7 separate regions of the Homo sapiens genome follow, and regions 1, 2, 4, 5, 6 and 7 are each linked to region 3. Evidence: promoter capture Hi-C in 16 types of primary human blood cells and fetal thymus (Javierre and others, 2016). All regions are on one chromosome and are shown on one strand. Each heading gives the region's core, a stretch centred on a gene start or on the middle of the fragment in contact. The rest is flanking DNA. Distances are from core to core; before and after follow the strand shown. Region 1 overlaps RNF13 (ring finger protein 13). Region 2 overlaps WWTR1 (WW domain containing transcription regulator 1). Region 3 holds the start of COMMD2 (COMM domain containing 2). Region 4 overlaps TM4SF4 (transmembrane 4 L six family member 4). Region 5 overlaps WWTR1 (WW domain containing transcription regulator 1). Region 6 overlaps WWTR1 (WW domain containing transcription regulator 1). Region 7 overlaps WWTR1 (WW domain containing transcription regulator 1).

The links. The method cuts DNA at HindIII sites, captures the fragments that hold promoters and counts their contacts. A CHiCAGO score of 5 or more calls a contact.
Region 1: a fragment that was not itself captured here is called in contact with the fragment with the promoter of COMMD2 in region 3 in 1 of 17 cell types (neutrophils); the score reaches 5.4 in neutrophils.
Region 2: a contact is called between a fragment that was not itself captured here and the fragment with the promoter of COMMD2 in region 3, in 1 of 17 cell types (endothelial precursors). The highest score is 6.1, in endothelial precursors.
Region 4: a fragment that was not itself captured here is called in contact with the fragment with the promoter of COMMD2 in region 3 in 5 of 17 cell types (endothelial precursors, M2 macrophages, M1 macrophages and 2 more); the score reaches 17.9 in endothelial precursors.
Region 5: a fragment that was not itself captured here is called in contact with the fragment with the promoter of COMMD2 in region 3 in 2 of 17 cell types (endothelial precursors and M2 macrophages); the score reaches 6.9 in endothelial precursors.
Region 6: a contact is called between a fragment that was not itself captured here and the fragment with the promoter of COMMD2 in region 3, in 3 of 17 cell types (endothelial precursors, megakaryocytes and M2 macrophages). The highest score is 6.4, in endothelial precursors.
Region 7: a fragment that was not itself captured here is called in contact with the fragment with the promoter of COMMD2 in region 3 in 6 of 17 cell types (endothelial precursors, M2 macrophages, M1 macrophages and 3 more); the score reaches 18.7 in endothelial precursors.

The regions. Positions count from the first base shown.
Region 1 is chr3:149,927,718-149,930,417 of GRCh38, forward strand. All of the region lies in intron 8 of RNF13 (ring finger protein 13), which reads left to right. Among named protein-coding and RNA genes, the nearest start is that of PFN2, 42 kb to the right of the region's middle. The HindIII fragment of the contact is 4,883 bases long and covers 1-2,700 here.
Region 2 is chr3:149,557,884-149,560,583 of GRCh38, forward strand. All of the region lies in intron 3 of WWTR1 (WW domain containing transcription regulator 1), which reads right to left. Among named protein-coding and RNA genes, the nearest start is that of TM4SF4, 85 kb to the left of the region's middle. The HindIII fragment of the contact is 1,692 bases long and covers 475-2,166 here.
Region 3 is chr3:149,751,239-149,753,938 of GRCh38, forward strand. It overlaps COMMD2 (COMM domain containing 2), which reads right to left and starts at 1,251. Exons shown (of 5, transcript NM_016094.4): 1 at 1,140-1,251; 2 at 972-1,049; 3 at 165-247. The coding sequence starts at 1,206. RefSeq lists a silencer at 1,407-1,476. The HindIII fragment of the contact is 1,089 bases long and covers 779-1,867 here.
Region 4 is chr3:149,501,361-149,504,060 of GRCh38, forward strand. It overlaps TM4SF4 (transmembrane 4 L six family member 4), which reads left to right. Exons shown (of 5, transcript NM_004617.4): 5 at 1,316-2,034. The coding sequence ends at 1,333. Among named protein-coding and RNA genes, the nearest start is that of TM4SF4, 28 kb to the left of the region's middle. RefSeq lists a silencer at 362-656. The HindIII fragment of the contact is 327 bases long and covers 1,117-1,443 here.
Region 5 is chr3:149,540,371-149,543,070 of GRCh38, forward strand. WWTR1 (WW domain containing transcription regulator 1) reads right to left here. Exons shown (of 7, transcript NM_015472.6): 4 at 1,965-2,167. Among named protein-coding and RNA genes, the nearest start is that of TM4SF4, 67 kb to the left of the region's middle. The HindIII fragment of the contact is 971 bases long and covers 801-1,771 here.
Region 6 is chr3:149,574,829-149,577,528 of GRCh38, forward strand. The region is part of intron 2 of WWTR1 (WW domain containing transcription regulator 1); the gene reads right to left. Among named protein-coding and RNA genes, the nearest start is that of WWTR1-IT1, 76 kb to the right of the region's middle. RefSeq lists enhancers at 1-594, 595-1,221. The HindIII fragment of the contact is 2,092 bases long and covers 397-2,488 here.
Region 7 is chr3:149,520,264-149,522,963 of GRCh38, forward strand. It overlaps WWTR1 (WW domain containing transcription regulator 1), which reads right to left. Exons shown (of 7, transcript NM_015472.6): 7 at 1-726. The coding sequence ends at 542. Among named protein-coding and RNA genes, the nearest start is that of TM4SF4, 47 kb to the left of the region's middle. The HindIII fragment of the contact is 431 bases long and covers 1,136-1,566 here.

The DNA.
Region 1 (2,700 bases), core at 54-2,553, 180 kb after region 3:
TGTTGAGCATCTTTTCTTGTGCTTATTGTCCACTTGGATATTTCCTTTGGCAAATTATCTGTTCAAGTACTTTTCTTATTTTCAATTGGGTGGTTTATCATTTTGTTCTTGAGTTATAGGAGTTCTTTGTATATTCTAGATAACATGATTTGCAAATATTTTTTCCCATTCTGTCAGTTGTCACTTTCTTGATAATGTCCTTTTATGTACAGAAGTTTCAAATTTTGATGTAGTCCAATTTACCTTTTTTCTTTTTTTGCTTATGATATGAAGCATAAGCAAAAACCTTTTTTTTTTTTTTTTTTTGCTTGTGAAGGAAATTAAAGAAGACCTCAATAAATGGAAAAGCATCCCACATTCATGGATTGAAAGACTTAATATTGTTAAGATATCAAGACTACCCAAAGCAGTCTACAAATTCAGCACAATTCCTATCAAAATTCCAAGAACTTTTTTTGCAGAAATGAAAAATTTAAAAATTTTGATTAAGTCCAGTTTTTACCTTATGTCATATCTAAGAATACACTGTCAAATCTAAGGTCATAAAGATTTACCCTATGTTTTCTTCAAAGTTTTATGGTTTTAGCTTATATTTAGGTCTTTTATCAATTTAGAGTTGATTTTCATATATAGTAAATATGAGGTAGGGCTCCCGGCTTATTTTTTTGTATGTGGAAATCCAGTTATCTCAGCACCATTTGTTGAAGAGACTGTTTTCTCATTGAATATCTTGGCACTCTCATCAAAAATAAGTTGGCCATAGATGTATGGTTTTATTTATGGACTCTCAGGTACATTCCTTTGGTCTATATGATTATCCTTATGCCAGTCCCACACTATTTTGATTACTCTAGTTTTGTAGTAAATTTTGAAACTGAGAATTGTGAGTCTTCCACATTTGTTGTTGTTCTTCAGTATTTTAGCTATTCAGGGTCCTTTGCAATTCCATAATAACTTGAGAATAATTTGAGGATAGAACTTTATATTTTTGCAAAAAAAGTTATAGAATTTTGATAGGGATTGTGCTAAATTTGTAGGTTGCTTTGGGTAGTCTTGACATCTTAACAATATTAAGTCTTCCAATCCATGAATATGGGATGCTTTTCCATTTATTGAGGTCTTCTTTAATTTCCTTCAGCAATGCCATGTAATTTTCAGTCTATAAGTCTTTCATCTCCTTAGATTTATTTCTAGGCATTTTATTGTTTTAGATACTATTATAAATAGAATTCCTTTCTAAATTTCTTTTATGGATTGTTCATTGCTGGTGTGGAGAAACACAACTGATTTTTATGCATTGATCTTATAACCTACAACTTTGATGGATTTGTATATAGCTCTGGTAGCTTTCTTGTGGATTCTTGGGGATTTCCTATATAGCAGATTGTATTAGCCTGTTCTCACACTACTATAAGAAATACCCAAGACTGGGTAATTTATAAAGGAAAGGTTTTAATTGACTCACAGTTCCACATTGCTGGAGAAGCCTCAGGAAACTTCTAATCATGGTGGAAGGCAAAGGAGAAGCAGACATCTTCATAGGGCATCAGGACAGAGTGAGTGCAAGCAGGGGAGATGCCAGATGCTTATAAAACCATCAGATCTCGTGAGACTCACTATCATGACAATAGCGTGGGGGAAACTGCCCCCATGATCCAATTACCTCCACCTGGTCCTGCCCCTGACACGTGGGGATTATGTGTATTATAATTCAAGATGAGATTTTGGGTGGAGACACAGCCAAACCATATCACAGATCATGTCATCTGTGAATAGGTGTAGTTTTACTTCTTTCTTTCCAACATGGATTTATTTCATTTTCTTGTGTAATTGCTTATAGAACTTACAGTACAATATTGAATAATAGTGGTGAAAGTGGCCATTCTACTTTCTTTCTGATTTTAAGGCAAAAATTTGCAGTACTTCACCAGTGAGTATTTTAGTTGTGAGTTGTTGTTGTTGTTTTTAATAAATGCCCTTTATCAAGTTGATGAAGTCCCCTACTATATAGGTTCATTTTTTTGGCATGTTGAAATCTACTTGTTCCAGCATTATTTGTTGAAAAGACTGTCCTTTCTCCCTTGAATCACCTTTGCTCCACTGTTAGAGAGCAGTTGACTATATTTGTGTGAGTCTTTTTCTGGAATCTCTATTCTGTCCCATTTATCTATTCTTTCACCAGTACCACACCGCCTTGATTACTGTACTTTTGTTTTGTTTTGTCTTGAAATGGAGTCTTGCTCTGTTGCCCAGGCTGGAGTGCAGTGGTGCAATCTCGGCTCACTGCAACCTCCGCCTCCCAGGTTCAAGCAATTCTTCTGCCTCAGCCTCCCATGTAGCTGGGAGCACAGGCATGTGCCACCATGCCTGTCTAATTTTTTTTGTATTTTTAGTAGAGACAGGGTTTCACTATGTTGGCTAGGCTGGTCTTGAACTCCTGACCTCAAGTGATCTGCCTGCCTCGGCCTCCCAAAGTGCTGGGATTACAGGCGTGAGCCACTGCACCAGCTGATTACTTTATAGTAAGTCTTAACATTGGGTAGTGTCAGTTCATTGACTTTGTTACTTCAGTATGGTGTTGGCTGTTTTGGTGTTTTGCCATTCCGTATATACTTGTGAACTAGTTTGTTGGTATCCAAAAAAAGAAATTGCTGAGATTTTGATTGGGATTGCATTGAATTTATAAATCAAGTTGGGCAT
Region 2 (2,700 bases), core at 71-2,570, 190 kb before region 3:
TCTCTGCTACTGGGGAGGCTGAGGCACGAGAATCACTTGGACCAGGGAGGTGGATGTTGCAGTGAGCGGAGATCACGCCATTGCACTCCAACCTGGGTGACAGAGCAAGGCTCCATCTCAAAAAAAAAAAAAAAAAAGAATTATATGTTTTTTAAGATGCAAGAGTAGGGAACAAATGAATGGAAGCATCATAATTTCATTTTAAAACTACTCGTGTGTCAGTCACAGATTGCCCTCAATGAGAAACTTGTAAACCTGTGAATGGGCCCCAAGCAGTACACCTGCCAGTCTAGGACTCAGAATGAAGTGAAGGAGAAATGGGTTTTTTGTGGTCTTGAGTCACACTGAGACAGTCAACTGCTTGTGACTCTAATAAACATAGCCTACCTTTTGTAAATAAATTAAAAAAAAAACCTACCTGTGTGTATATAGCTGCACAGATATATTATGTGTCAAATAAATAATGTTCTGTGAAGCTTAACTGAGCAGGTTGGAAATTTTACTTGTTAGTCATCCCGAGGGGAAGAGTTTACATGATTTTAGGCCATACCTTATAGAGACCTGGTAGACCAAAAAGCCTTTCCACATATTTCATTAGCTTTACAGAACATATTCATTAGAGGAGCCATTTGGCACAAGCATGCTCTGCTGCCCCCACCCCACCTTCCATAGACACTACCTTCATCAAGTGATCAAAGCTAATGTCACCTATAGTGGAACAAATCGTGTGCCTCCTGATAGGATTCAATGAGAAGAACACAACATCACTTCCATGGTATTCCTGCCAAAAATTTATAACCTAAACCAAAATCACGAAGAAATGCCGGACAAATCCAAATTTAAAAATGATTCACAAAATAACTGGCCTATATATTCCTCAAAAATGTCAAGGTCCAGAACACAAGGACCGAAGACTTGTTCCAAATTAGAAGAGATTATGGAAACAGGACAACTAAATGCAATGTGAGATCCTCAATCACATCCTGGGCCAGAAACAAAAATAGCCACAAAGGACATCACCGGGACAACTGAAGACATTTCGAATCTGGGCTATTAGATAAGAGTATTGTATCAATGTTAAATTTCCTGATTTTGATACCTACACTGTGCTTATATAAGAAAATGTCCAGCTGGGCACGGTGGCTCACGCCTGTATTCCCAGCACTTTGGGAGGCCAAGGCAGGCAGATCACCTGAGGTTAGGAGTTCCAGACCAGCCTGGCCAACATGGGGAAACCCCATCTCTACTAAAAATACAAAAATTTGCCAGGCGTAGTGGCACACACCTGTAGTCCCAGCTACTTGGGAGGCTGCAGCAGGGGAATTGCTTGAACCCAGGAGATGGAGGTTTCAATGAGACGAGATCATGCCACTGCACTCCAGCCTGGGCAACAGAGCAAGACTCCATCTCAAAAAAAAAAAAAAAAAAAAGAAAAGAAAAGAAAAAAGAAAAAAAGAAAAAGTCTTTTGAGAAAATATAAGTATTTCTGGGTAAAGGAGAATGATGTCTCCAACTTTGTCTCAAATGGTTCAGAAAAAAAAATATGTAGATAGATAGATAGATGGATAGATGGATAGATGCAACCGTGGCTATGTTTATAAGCAAACAATTAACAAAGGCAGATCTGGGGAAAAGGTATATGGGAATTCCTTAGACTAAACTTGAAACTCTTCTGTAAGTTTACAATTCTTTCAAAATAAATAGTGACATTTAAAAAAATAAAACCTCTCTACACATACCTCAAACCTCCTGGAGACAGAATTCTCAGTCCGGCAGGGACCAGAGAAACTGTGTTATGTATGGGCCATTGTTCTGTGGCACTGTTGAACTTTGAGGAAACTCCTATTAAACAATGCTTTTGATAACTGATTGGAATTTGGATGGAACAGAATCCCAGCTGCAATCTGTGCTACATAATTCTGATACCTCATACTCATAGTTCCTTCCAGCCTCCCACCTCTATCCCCAACCCCAACTGTTAAATGATTCTAATTTTAAAACATAGACAGCCTAGGAAGACAGGACAAAGAGCTACCCCAACAGACCGGTTGGAGGTCTTTCAGAAGAAACGCCACTGGATAGCTGCCCCTGAGGACCAGACACCCAGAATAGGAAATTGCAGGTTTTCTTGGGAAGGACCTGGGACACCAAGAGAGTTGACTGTCAAGCTTGAGATCTGTTGTGAAAGGTCCTTACATCCCAGGGTCAGAGCTGAGACATTGCTCCATTTAGGTCTTCTTGATAGGAGGAAAAATGAGCAAGCTAAGAGTGGAGGATGGAGAAGGCACCAGTGAATGCAAACATATGAAATAGGGAATGCCTCAGGCGAAAGCCATCTGATTTTAATATATCGTAGTTTCGACACTGAGATTCCCTCAAATTGCAGGAAAAATATAATGTGTACTTAAAACTAGAGGAGACACAGAGGAGAGGAGAAAGCACAAGCAAAGAAGACATGCTGAGGATCCCAGAAGAGAAGTCTCCCAAGGGGCAGCCCTAGGCTGCAGTGACCCAGGCAGAAATGATATAGGGAAGGTGTCCAGAAACCTCCAGCATGGAGCCGCCCTGAGCATTTGTTTTGTTAGGATGGGATGATCCAATTCCATTTGGAGAGAAATTATAGTTCCATTCTAATTAATTCAGGCATTACAGCAGTTGATACGGCAGAAATTAAGAGAATATTTTTCTTGACATTTGAAG
Region 3 (2,700 bases), core at 1-2,500:
AGATGATATGATTTTTATTTTTTAGGTATGTCTTCAAAAAATCAATTATAAACCATTAACAACATTATTAAAACACACAGGTACCTGCCAGGACTATGATGTAGAGTACACCAGACCGTTCTTAAGAATCCAGCCAACACAAAACAGTCCAGAAAATCCCTTACCATGAGCTTTGAGCTCTCAGTGAGGAGATACGTTAATCCTTCCACACCATGCTGGACAGTGTCACTACTCACATTGAGTTTTCCTGAGAAAGAAAAGTAAAAACGAGCAAATAAATTACTACTGTAGTATTTATCTTGTTCATATTTGTATTTAAAAATAAACACTATTCATTATTACATGTTTTCAAACACTGCATGAAAAACAGTAAGTTGGCCAGAGGCTCCTGCTCCTTGTCATTCCACTCCCAGCCAAATGCCTTTGGTATTTCCCACCAAGTAACCTTAACAAAATGCAGAACTGTGGAGACTAGTATCAGGTGCGTAGCCCTTCTCTTGAATACGTAGCTCCTTCAAGTCTGGCAGAAGAGGAACTCGACAGGGATTGACTTAATCCCAGAGACTGCCTCTTACCCAGGGGTAAAACAACACTTTTTTTTTTTTTTTTAGCAAAAGCGGATATCTGAACAACTAATAATGATAACCAAATACTTGCAATTTACAGTTGACCCAGCTATTCCACAGACTTTGGTATATTTATACAAAACACTTTTCAGTATTTCTGAAAGTAAGGTGGTATTATGTACATTTTACCATGAGAAAACTGATTTAATAGAAGCTTTAACAATCTCACAGCTACTTAAGGGACGGGCAGGATTTGCACCCTGACTGAAGAGCTCTGCTGGTTTTATTCTACTACAATCGGAACAAGACCCTAGGACTCGCAATAATCCGTTTCTCTCCCGGGAGACAGGGAATGGCTCGCAACCGCCCTAGAAGCCTGCGGAGCCTTCCCCTTTCCCTTCTTACTGGCGGCGCCTTCGTAGATTTTTGGGTTTGCGCCGCGTCTCAGGAATTCCACAGCAATCCGCCCAAACTCGGCGACCACTGCAATGAAAGTCAGAAGGCTGTTGAGTGCCAGGCGCTGCCTTTGACCTCCTCCCCAGCCCACAGAACACCGCCCCCACGCCCGCTGACCCGCGCTGTCCACTTGAGGCAGGAAGGCCAGGTGTTCCTTATGCTCCTCGGACAATTCCAGCAGCATCTTCACTGTCCTACGATTTCACCCGGCAGCGCCGACCCCGCCTTCGCCACTTCCGGCGCCCGTGTCCCGGCGCCTAGAGGCTCCGGCGTCGCAGCGTCCGGAGCTTTGGGTTCCGGCCTACGAACTAACGCGTTACACTCGGACGTTCCCTGCAGCGCAGGCTGAGGTCAGAACATTGAAATCATCCCGCAAAGATGCAGTGAGCGCCTGCTGGGTGCAAGGTGCTAGGCTCTATGGGAGATGAAAAGGTGTTTCAAATCCGACACGCCCCCTCGTGGAGCATACATTAATAATATCAATAGTTCACATTTGTTAAGCACTAACCGTGTCAGGAAGTGTTCTTACATTTATTAAATACATTTGGAGTTCAGAAGAACCCTATGAGGTAGGTTCCATTATAATTTCCATTAGAGATAAGGAAACTGATAGACAAGTCCAGCAACTGACACTTTTATAAAGCTAATAGTTTCCAGAGCTTCTATGTTATCTTAAATGTATCTCAGTTAATATCCTCAACAAACATGGCTTTGTTTTTACAGATAAGACACAAAGCTCCAGAGATTATGTGACAAAGCCTGTGACAGAGTTAGATGGAGAGGGTTGGATCCCTCACTTACCTGCTGCAAAGCCCATCCTTCTACATAACAGCCTGAAAGCTGAAAGCTTCTGACAAGTTTTATGAGTGATTATAAATTAGGATAAAGATAATGATGACAATGACCGATGCTTACAGGATTCAGAGCAATGTTTTTGTTTGTTTGTTTTGTTTTGTTTTGTTTTTTACATGGAGTCTCGCTCTGTCGCCCGGCTCACTGCAACCTCTGCCTCCCGGGTTCAAGCGATTCTCCTGCCTCAGCCTCCCGAGTAGCTGGTATTACAAGCGCCCACCACCATGCCTGGCTAATGTTTGTATTTTTAGTAGAGACGGGTTTTCACCATGTTGGCCAGGCTGGTCTTGAACTCCTGACCTCAAGTCATCCAGCCAACTTGGCCTCCCAAAGTGCTGGGATTACAAGCATGAACCACCACACCTGGCCCAGAGCAATGCCTTTTAAAAAGTATTTAGCGCCTGTGATAATTTAGTTCCTTTTCCAACTCTCTTCTCACCTGCTGTGGTTCAAATATCAGAGATGATAAAGTTGCTAATTGATAGGAATATGATTCTTCAAATCTTAACCCCTTGAAAATGGAGGGTGTGGAGGAAGAGAGGGGAAGGGAAGAAGACTCTTCATATCTGTCTTTTCTATCTAAGGCTTGAGACAACTCTATATTCTGAGTCTCCCAGGCAGACTAAAAATTGGAAGAGTTTTTCAATTCACTTCTCTGTGTCTACTTTGTCCTTCACATCTGACTGAAATTGTTTCTTCCACTGGGACACAGAAAGACAGGTCCTTGAACTTATTAGTTAGTTCTTGAAGTAGCATTTGCAGAGAGAACACAACTTTTACTTAGACTGTGAATTGCAGATTAGCAAAAATTGCATCATTTCCTGAA
Region 4 (2,700 bases), core at 30-2,529, 250 kb before region 3:
GTCTCTCTCCCCACTCCTCCTCCAACTTTCTATTTTGAAAACTTCAAATCTACATAAAGTTGAAGGAATGGTGCAATGAACACCTGTATACTTTCACCCATGTTCACAAAATTCTTAATATTTTCTCACCCTCTCTGTTTCTGGACTCTTGGAAAGTAATTTTTGGACATCACAAAGTTTCACTACTAAATATTTCAGTGCACAAGAGCTGCAGTTTTAAAGTCAGTCTGCTGAAGATTCCTTTCTCTTGGGCAGCTGGCCTCTCATGGGGCTGGTCAGCATTCCTGCCCCAGTAGGACACTGAGGAAAGACTTGGGCTCTCAGCCTAGTTCCACAGCTTACTAGCTGAGTGACTCCAGCAAGCTGACTAACTTCTCATAGTCTCAGTTATTCCAACTGCCTCTTGCCTAACTTATGGAGAGAGTGTAAGATCAACATCTATCCATTCAGGCGGAAAGTATTTACTGAGAGCTTCCTGAGCCTGGCACAGTCCTTAAATGAAGTGGTAGTTGGGAATGTGCCTTAAAATACATGCTATGAGACCTGGTTTGAATGTCAGCTGTGTGGTCTTGGCCCAGTCAGTAGCCCTCAACTGCTCCTTGTCTGTAAAATGTGGCTATTAATACCTACTCCTACGGTTGTCAATGGAGTGCCTAGTACAGGGTGACAAGCATGAATTCATTTGAATCCTTAGAAGGCTCAGTAAATGGCATTGAATGTTATTTACTAACCTTATGAAAGTCAGTGAGGTAGCATAGCTTCAAGTTTCCTTTAACACAATCTCTGGGTTCTGCCTCCCTGGTTCAAATCCCAGCTCTCCTACTTGTTAGTGGTGGCTTTCCACATAGCACTTGGTCTCTCAGCACCTCTTACCAAATTATTTTTTTAAATAAATGATGCATATTGTATACAATGTATTCTCCTCAGGTGATGGGTGCACTGCAGTTTCAGAATTCATCAGTACCTAATTCATCATCCACAGAACCAACAACCACTTGTACCCCAAAAGCTATTGAAATTTAAAAAAATTAAAAACAAAATAAAACAAAAATAAATAAATAAAATGTAACTTCCTTGAGGACTAAATAAATAAATACATGATGCAAAACAAAATGAAGCTTCCATTCCTATAACCTCAACACAGGTGGGTGCCAGAGTAAAGCCCTGAAACAAAGCCAGAAAAGTATAGGAAACATTCAATAGGCAACCATTAAGAGCCAGGAGGAAGGCAGGTGATGGGGATGGGAAGGAGGGGAAAAGCAAAAATTTACATAAATCATGACATCATAGTTAATTCACCTTTTCTACCTTCTAGGGAGATGGACCCGTTTAAACCTCCGAGATGAGCTGCTCAGACTCTACAGCATGACGACTACAATTTCTTTTCATAAAACTTCTTCTCTTCTTGGAATTATTAATTCCTATCTGCTTCCTAGCTGATAAAGCTTAGAAAAGGCAGTTATTCCTTCTTTCCAACCAGCTTTGCTCGAGTTAGAATTTTGTTATTTTCAAATAAAAAATAGTTTGGCCACTTAACAAATTTGATTTATAAATCTTTCAAATTAGTTCCTTTTTAGAATTTACCAACAGGTTCAAAGCATACTTTTCATGATTTTTTTATTACAAATGTAAAATGTATAAAGTCACATGTACTGCCATACTACTTCTTTGTATATAAAGATGTTTATATCTTTGGAAGTTTTACATAAATCAAAGGAAGAAAGCACATTTAAAATGAGAAACTAAGACCAATTTCTGTTTTTAAGAGGAAAAAGAATGATTGATGTATCCTAAGTATTGTTATTTGTTGTCTTTTTTTGCTGCCTTGCTTGAGTTGCTTGTGACTGATCTTTTGAGGCTGTCATCATGGCTAGGGTTCTTTTATGTATGTTAAATTAAAACCTGAATTCAGAGGTAACGTAACAAAGATTGTGTGTGTTTTAGGAGGGGGGACAAAACGTTGAATGAATAACAACTCATCTTTTCTACAAATGCTTCCTTTGATCAAACAAAAAAAAGTTTTTAAAAAATTGATTTAAGTAATAATTTTGTCAGCCTATTGCCCAGGGTTAAGGTAATAAGTATTAGTATTCTATGTGTCTTATTAAGACTAACTGGCTTTATGAGTCAGGCACTAACAGGGCATCAGATCCATTCTGTTGATTTGTGTTCAAACCCCAACTTCACCACAAACCAGCTTAGGGGTCCCGGGACAGTTATTTTCAAAGTCTCAGTTTCCCCATCTGTAAAAGGACACCTGAGAGACAACCAGTCATACTGGAAATTTTGAAGTTGCCAAGGGTGAAGCAAAGGCCTGTGTGCTGCCAACGTGACTGTGTGCAATAAGAAGGGTCTCAGGGAAGTCCAAGCCAGAAAGTCTCCCTTCTGCCCTTGCCAAGCTAATAGGCTGCACCACGTAGGTCAGGCACACTGAAAACTGGGTTTGTCAAAGCCATCAATAAAGTAATTAATGATCACCTACTGTGTGCTGGCCCCCGCGGGGCTAGGCACTGAAGATACAAAGAGTTACACGCTGTAGTTTTGCCCTCACTACAATGAGAACTCTATGAGATCAGGGATTGTGTCTGACATCTGAAACTTAATAGGCAGAGGCAAGAAAGGCAGATACACTGAAGATCTCGTTGCGGGAACTATACACACACACACACACACACACTCACACACACACACACGGTGTTT
Region 5 (2,700 bases), core at 36-2,535, 210 kb before region 3:
ACCCCTTTTCAGAAATACTTTCTGTGGGAAAGAAGGAGGAGAAGCAAGAGAAAGAGAAACACACCCGCAAAAACAGAGAAGCAAGTCATTCTTTGCAGAATGGTCACAACTTTGTGTAAAGAAAAAACTCACTAAAGCTCATTTAAGTATAAAACTGAGAATGTATAAAATGCTGTTGGGATACTGTTTAATTTACCTTACATTATAAAACAGAAAAATTATTCCAAATAAAATTATTATTCAAAGACAGAAAACAATTAACAATACAATTACTTCCCATCAAGAAACATGACACTATATATCTAAAATCAGTATAAACAACCGTTAGCCTGAAATAACCGTGAAAGTTCAAACATAAATCCTCAGGGTAAAAGACACAACTGTAGTTACCTAATTATTAAGTTGTATTCCTCAAATTTGGAGGAAAGTTCAGCTGAGCAACAAAGCACAATTTATATTCATTTTCCTTATTTTCAAAGACTATATCTGAGAAATGATTTTAATTTACCATGCATTTTAAACCTCACACAATATAGATTTCTTATATCCTGGAATGTATTTGATGAGAAATACATTATTCATTCATGGAAGTCAATGTGTATTTTTGAAAGTATCAAATGTAGCTTTAAAAAAACAGCATTTACCCTAACATGCTCGGTCCTTTCCTCCAAGAAAGTTCTCTGGAATGTTAAAACTACTTATTTCTCTAATTTCTCTAAAGTAGCAAAAGGAAGTTATTCATGTATCTTGCTTCATGTGAGTCACAAAACAAAGTCTGAAAAGTTAAAACAATAAACTGAAGCTTTTCTCCCCAAAAATGTAGCCAGAAAAAAAGCATGAGACCTGAAAACATGGGTTATATTAGTTTAGCAACACAGAAGAAAGAATTCTGCTCTTCCATAGACCAAGCCACTGAAACAGGGAGAGCACTGTGGGTTCTTTTAGGAATTCTCTTGTATTCGTTTTTGAAGTACAGCACTGAGCCTGACCCACAGAGGGCACACGGCAACACACTCCTGACTGACGGAATGAAAACTGAATGAATGGAGTATGGTACAAAAGTGCCTGATTGATGCCCAGGCAGTTTTGCAGAGCACTCTGTTGGAGTCCATATACAAACCACTTTCCCTTCTCATTCTCCCTTCAGCTTCCCTCTTTTTCATGCTCTGTGGTGGACCAAGATCCTTTGTCATTTCTTCTGAGGAACATCCACTCCACTATCTGCTTGAATCTCGGGGGGTTCTCTGTGACTACTTTGACCAAGAGAGTGTGGCAAAAGCGACTCCACGACCGTTTCCAGAGCTAGGCCCCAAGAAATTGGCAACTTCTACTTCCTGTCTCTTAGAATGCTTTTTCTTGAAAACCCAGCTGCTATGGAATGAGTACCACTACTCTGAGATCGCCACACCATAGATCCCAGGCTTTTGTTCCAGCTTAGCCCAGTCTTCCAGCAATCCTCACCATCATGCCACCCACTTAGGTAAAGCCATTGTGAACTATCCAGACCAACCCACCTACCAGTTGAATACCACTAAATGACCTCAGTCAATGCCATGTAGAGCAGAAGAATATCCCAGGTGAGCCCCTTCTAAATTCTGACCCACAAAATTGTGCGATATAATGAAATGGCTATTTAAGCAACTACATTTTGGGATAATTTGTTACACAACAACAGACTCTTGTCTCTCTACTTTCTCCTTTCTCTCCTTCTAAAGACTAGCAGTGGAAGCCAAAGGCAGCCATGCTAATACAGCTCGTCCTTGTACCCTTAAGCTTCGTTCTGAAAAGGCAGGCAGAACACTGAGAGAAGAAACTGGATTTTAATCAAGAGGCTTGGAGTAGGGCTTTGAGCCCTATTGTCTCTTCTTCTCTAGAAGAATTACCCTGAAGGTAAGCAGCTACCTACCCATCAGCTTTGGCACCAAGGCCAGGGAGCCTCCACCAGACACCATGGAAAGCCATACCTGCCTCATGAGCTCCTCTTGGCGCATTCGAATCCTTTCTCTCTCCATCTGGATTCTCTGAAGCCGCAGTTTCTGCTGCTGCTGCTGCTGAGTGGTCAGCGCATTGGGCATACTCATGAGCCCTGCGGGTGGGTTCTGAGTGGGGTGGTTCTGCTGGCTCAGGGTACTGGGGGCCATCTGCTGCTGGTGTTGGTGATTCATCACTGCAAGAGGGAAGAACATACAGATTAATGACCAGGGCCCACAATACCTTATCAAAAATAGACCATCAGAATGTTTTCTGCTTTGGAGTATAGATTCCTGAGATTCCTTCCAAAGTACTTTCCTGTTAACCATTACTGTTTAAGTAATTATTACCTTAATTCAATTCACGGAGGCTCGAATACTGGCCCCAATCCTGACTCATCTAGCCTCGGCTTTTGTTTCTGTTAAAATCTCATTTCACACCTCCCTGTCTAGAGTACATTTTAAGCCTTACATAGAACATAGTGGTCTAAAGCAAATTCCACAAAGGTTATCACAAGTTATGAGATAATTTCACCAGATCATTTGTGTGTGTGTGTGTGTGTGCATGTGTATACTTTCTCAGTTAATTTGTGTGTTTATGGCAGAGGTAAGGAGGGCATGTGATCTTTGGTACACAAACCAGTGAATTGACAAACAACATGTAACACAAAGCACCTAGATCAGGAGCCGACATATAAGGAGGACTCCATTAATCCTTTGTTTGAAAAGC
Region 6 (2,700 bases), core at 193-2,692, 180 kb before region 3:
TCACGCCTCTAATCCCAGCACTTTGGGAGGCCGAGGCGGGTGGATCACCACAGGTCAAGAGTTCGAGACCAGCCTGGCCAACATGGTGAAACCCCAGCTCTATTAAAAATATAAAAAGTAGCCGGCATGGTGATGCACGCGTGTAACCCCAGCTACTCGGGAGGCTGAGACAGGAGAATCGCTTGAACCCGGGAGGTGGAGGTTGCAGTGAGTTGGGATCATGCCACTGCACTCCAGCCTAGGCAGCAGAGTGAGACTCCATCCCCCCCAAAAAAAAAAGATGGGGAAATACTGAAGTAAAGAGATGAAAATCATTTCCCTAAGTATAAAGTAAATAATAATAAAAACAATAGTTTTAGTTTACACTTTCAGTTTCACAATTGTAGTTCTGTTTAAAGCTTTCATAAAATCCATCAACTTCTGGGCAGGTGGAAACTCATAGCCAGCCTCAGGCTTGTCACAGGCCTTCCAAGTGAGGAACTAATTGATGAGGATGTCAAAATTAAGTAACTCCCTTTAGCAAAATAATTAGACCTAAGAAATGCTTTGATTATTCCTTCAGAACTCATTCTATTAAAGCAGCATGTTTTCCAAGGCAGACATGTGCTACATAAATAGTTTTCACTCTGGTACCAGAAGGAAAAGAATCCTTCTCTCTTTCATAAACCTTTCTTAGACTCTCTGACATCATGGATATTGATGCTGTGCTAGAACCAACATCAGCACAGGCCCCGGTGAGATGTGGAAATATACATCATTTGCTGGAAGATGTTCAAGGACACTTCCGTGGTCAGAATTTCAGCTACCAGCTCTAGGAATAATACAGGAGCTGGAATGATGCATTCCTAAATGCTCGTCCCCCACTCTCCCCTCCCGTTCTGAACAAGTGGGCTGTGGCTCCTGAATGCGGCAAGAGCAGGAACATCTAGCATAGGAAGCCCAGCATCTGAAGTGGCAGATGAGCTCATCTTGCCCCAGGAGTGCCAGCACAGCTTGCCAGCCTAAATCCCCTGGGACAGAGTGTGGGGCCTTCTGGGTGGACCTCATCCTGACAGTTCTGACCGAGCTTACCCATGGCTTGAAGTCCCAGCACTCCTGCAGTGCAGTGGGAGCCTCCACGGCCCACCCTTCAAACTCCACACCCAGCCAACACATTTAAAGGAGTTTTGTTCCCAGTGGATTTGTTAATTAAAAGTGTCACTCACAGCATTCCCCAAAGGCTGGAGTACAAGAGGGAGCCTTTCTTAAGTGAGCAGTTCTCATTGCTCCAAAACAACTCTGAGAAGAAAGCCCAAATTCCTGGCTCTGCAGACCAGTCGACCTGACATCAGCTGTAAGGCTGCGCTAACATGGTGTCAAGAGTGGCTCCCAGGCTGAATGCAACAAGTAAGAGTGAGCTATTGCTCACAAGAGGCACTTAATACAGCCTTGATGATTTCATCTGAAAACTAAATTCTCCTATTGTTCTAATCACTTAGTGCCTCAGGCTCCAGCTCCCCCTACTTCCCACCACTTCCCAAACCCAGGATACGCCATTCACTCTTTCACTCTGCTGTCTCATCTCTGCTCCCTCTCTCAATGTTACTGAGTCATTTCCTTTCTCGTATTTCACAGTGTAATCTCAGTGTTTGCCAGGACCCACAATTTAGCTAGATTAATCCCCACTTCCCCGCTACTCCCACCTCCTTCCTGGCTTCACTCCCTTGCTTAGTCTACTTCAAGAAAAACTCTCTGCTGTTTTAAAAGTATAACTTCCCTTGGAAATGCACACACATATACAAATATATTTAACCTGCCTATATATGTGTATTGTATAAATACATACACTGTACAGGTTTCATATTTGAAAATGGAACAAAAAAGGAAAAAGAAACATATCAAACTATTTATGGTGATATATGCAAATAACAGGCTCACTGGTAATTTTTTTTTTCTTATCTAAACTGCTTTGTACTTTCCAGATTTTTAGCAGTGATTATGTATTGTTTTCACAACCAGTAAAAACAAAAATACTAATGAAGGTACAAAAAGACAAAAAAGAAAATTGATGCATGAATACACAGGTCATAAGGTATAAGCAGCACTTTGGGAGGCCGAGGTGGGCAGATCACCTGAGGTTGGGAGTTCGAGACCAGCCTGACCAACATGGAGAAGCCCTGTCTCTACTAAAAATACAAAATTAGCCGGCTGTGGTGGCACATGCCTGTAATCCCAGCTACTCAGGAGGCTGAGGCAGGAGAATTGCTTGAACCCAGGAGGCGGAGATTGTGGTGAGCCGAGATCGCACCATTGCACTCCAGCCTGGGCAACAAGAGAGAAACTCAGTCTCAAAGAACAAACAAACAAACAAACAAAAAGAGTTCCTGAAGATAAACTACACTTTTGGCTCCTATCTTCGTGTGGCTCAAATCAGGGGACAAATGGAATCAATCACCTGATCCCATGCTGTTTATAAAGAAAAAGAATAGCAGTTCCTACGGGGAAGAAAAGCTTTTCTTGACAGTAAACATTTTTTTCCTCGACTTAAAAAAAAGAAAAATCCTCTACAAGTGCTTCCCATGGAGAGCCCTGGTGGTATGTGGGGTTAACGGTACCTGTAACAAATATAAGCGGGAGTGGGCTTTTTCCCCTTCCTTCAAGAGCCCCTTGGACCACTACTTCCCAGACAGCCTCCTTCTCTCAGTCCCAGAAAGACCAACC
Region 7 (2,700 bases), core at 101-2,600, 230 kb before region 3:
TATTCCATACAGTAGAATTTTACTATCCATACAATGATTTTTAAAGCTCAAGTTAAATAGTTTTTAAAGCATTTGGTACTACTGTCATCAATACAGTTTTTGAAACTGTAAATCAGGTCGAATTTTGTGCACATTTCCTGGACCAAGATGCCCTCAGAAGTAACTGCCTGTGGTCAGCTTTTTATGGTTTAAAATCAATTGGTGTATAAATTTCAATTAACACCCATAAAGCTTAGCCATGGGGCAGCAGAGAAGAAAGAGAAAAGTATTCTGCATAATCAATCCTGCAGACACAATTCTGTATAATCTGTCACAAGAACGCAGGCTTGCAGAAAATGAAAATAGAATATTTATTTATGTTTAACTTAAGTTACTCTCAATCAAAACCAGGCAATGATTAAACTGGCAACATAAAAAGGAGGGAGCACGAGTCATGGAGGCGGGAAGTGGTGCACCTGCAGACTTGCTCTGCTCCATCACTTTTTCCAAGAGGCCCAGGAAATGTAAGGTCATGGCTACATCCAAGTTACAATGGTAGTGATTACAGCCAGGTTAGAAAGGGCTCACTTTTGTTCAGAGCAGACTCTACATCATTGAAGAGGGGGATCAGGTCTTCAGATTCCAAAGTTCCTAAGTCAACGTTTGTTCCTGGAAGACAGTCAAGGAAATCAGGGAAACGGGTCTGTTGGGGATTGATGTTCATGGGTGTTTGTCCTGCGTTTTCTCCTATAACAAAATGAAAAGAAACCATTTTAATTCCTTCTTTTAGGCTCTTGAAGGAGGAACAGTTCAAGTATTTACATAACCCTCACCTTCATGTCTTCAACTACCACATTATTGACCCTTACTCATAAGAGGTACAGAGATGTGGAAGAAATCGAAAATTATTTCTGGATAGGTGTGGTCCAGAATGGAAAAGGCCAAGGAGATAAGAAAGGAGCATGTGAAAGGCACTGTGGATCTGATCTATGATCTGTGCCTTCCCATGACAAAGGTGTGAAGAACTGTTTTACAAAAGAGTAGAGAGGCCTTGTCTGTAATAAACAGCTTATTACAGAACTATAATCTACAGGTTTCATTGTAAGCTTAGGTTTACCCATACCATCCTTCTTTATGTTCAAAGAGAATGGTGTGAAGCTTCTTTTAACCAGGCTATTAAAAAGTTGTCTTCATTGATGACTTTAGGCATCATTTATAAAGGCAGTTCTGCAGACGTTTTCCCTCTTTCTGTAATACCTACACCCTACAACTATCTGCCTTTCTCACAAGCATATGAGCACAGTGCATATGAGCATGTTAAGGCTTTAAGTCTTAGAGTAAAGAAATCTTTTGTTTTCTTTAAGACACTATTTCCTAAACCCATTTAATCACCTAAACCTATTTTGGCAGTATGTGTATTCAAATAAAACTGAAGTTCTACAGAACACAGGTGAGAAAATGCTGTACTAGAGGAAAAGTAGGTGTCTGGGATATGACATGAAGAATATAGGTTCTTTATGTGTCATAGTATGGGACAGAATGCACTACTGACTTTGGTGTCATTAGATCGAGCTTTGTGGCTGTGTAAGCTTAGACACACTTAACCTGCCTGATTCTCAGTTTACCCATCTAGAAATTGGGATCATATGCTCCTTTTACAAAAGTTAGAGTAAAGTGCCATATAGTGTCTGCCACATATCCATGGCTCTGGGTGTCATTGATATATACAAAGTTATATACATACAAAAATATAATAAATGTTCATTGTCCTGAGAGAAAGAAAAACCCAGGTCTTCAGCCACTATTAATTACACAATATCAAAACAACAGGTTAATTCAAAAAGTCCCAAACAATTTTCTGAAGAGATAATATCTACTTCAAAAATTGAGAAGCATTGATAACTAAGGCCAGCTTCCACCATAACGTCATTTTTTAAAAACTTGTTAAATTATCTTTTGTGTGTTACAAGTGCAGTAGCCTTCCTGAAACGTGTGTAGGGAAGTTTCACTATTTTAAGCAAAATTGCCGAAAGTTCACTTTAGCAATCTGTGTTTTCCAGGGAGAAAAATTATATCCTTCCAAATGATGAAGGAACCATCATCCAATTTGGATTTTGGTGATAGCAAAACACAATGGCTTTTCTAGAAGTCACAAAATATAAATGACTCCTGGGTAACATTTTACAGTATTTTCATTGCAAAGGGTAGTAAACTGAAAAATTAAATCAAATTCAACAATATGACCTCAATATAGTGTTACTGATATTGAAAAATAACGTTAAACGAAAAAACAAAATCCAAAATAACTTTCTTCTACTTACTAGAGTGTAACAGATAAAAATGAGGCTTTAAAAAGTGTCTAAAAAACAATCTGATCTAATGTGCTGGATGCCTTTTTTTCTCTTCATCTCCAGTTAGAATCATTCATTTTTACTAATTTCCCATTTTAACTTTCAGATACTCAAGAATATAATTTTTAGCCAAGCAAAATCTCTGTTTTAAAGAATTCCTAGGCCGGGTGTGGTGGCTCATGCCTGTAATCCCAGCACTTTGGGAGGCCGAGGTGGGTGGATCACCTGAGGTCAGGAGTTCAAGAACAGCCTTGCCAACATGGTGAAACCCTGTCTCTACTAAAAATACAACAAACAAACAAACAAAAAAACCCCAAAAAAACAGTGCCAGGCATGGTGGCGCACCCCTGTAATCCCAGCTACTCAGGAG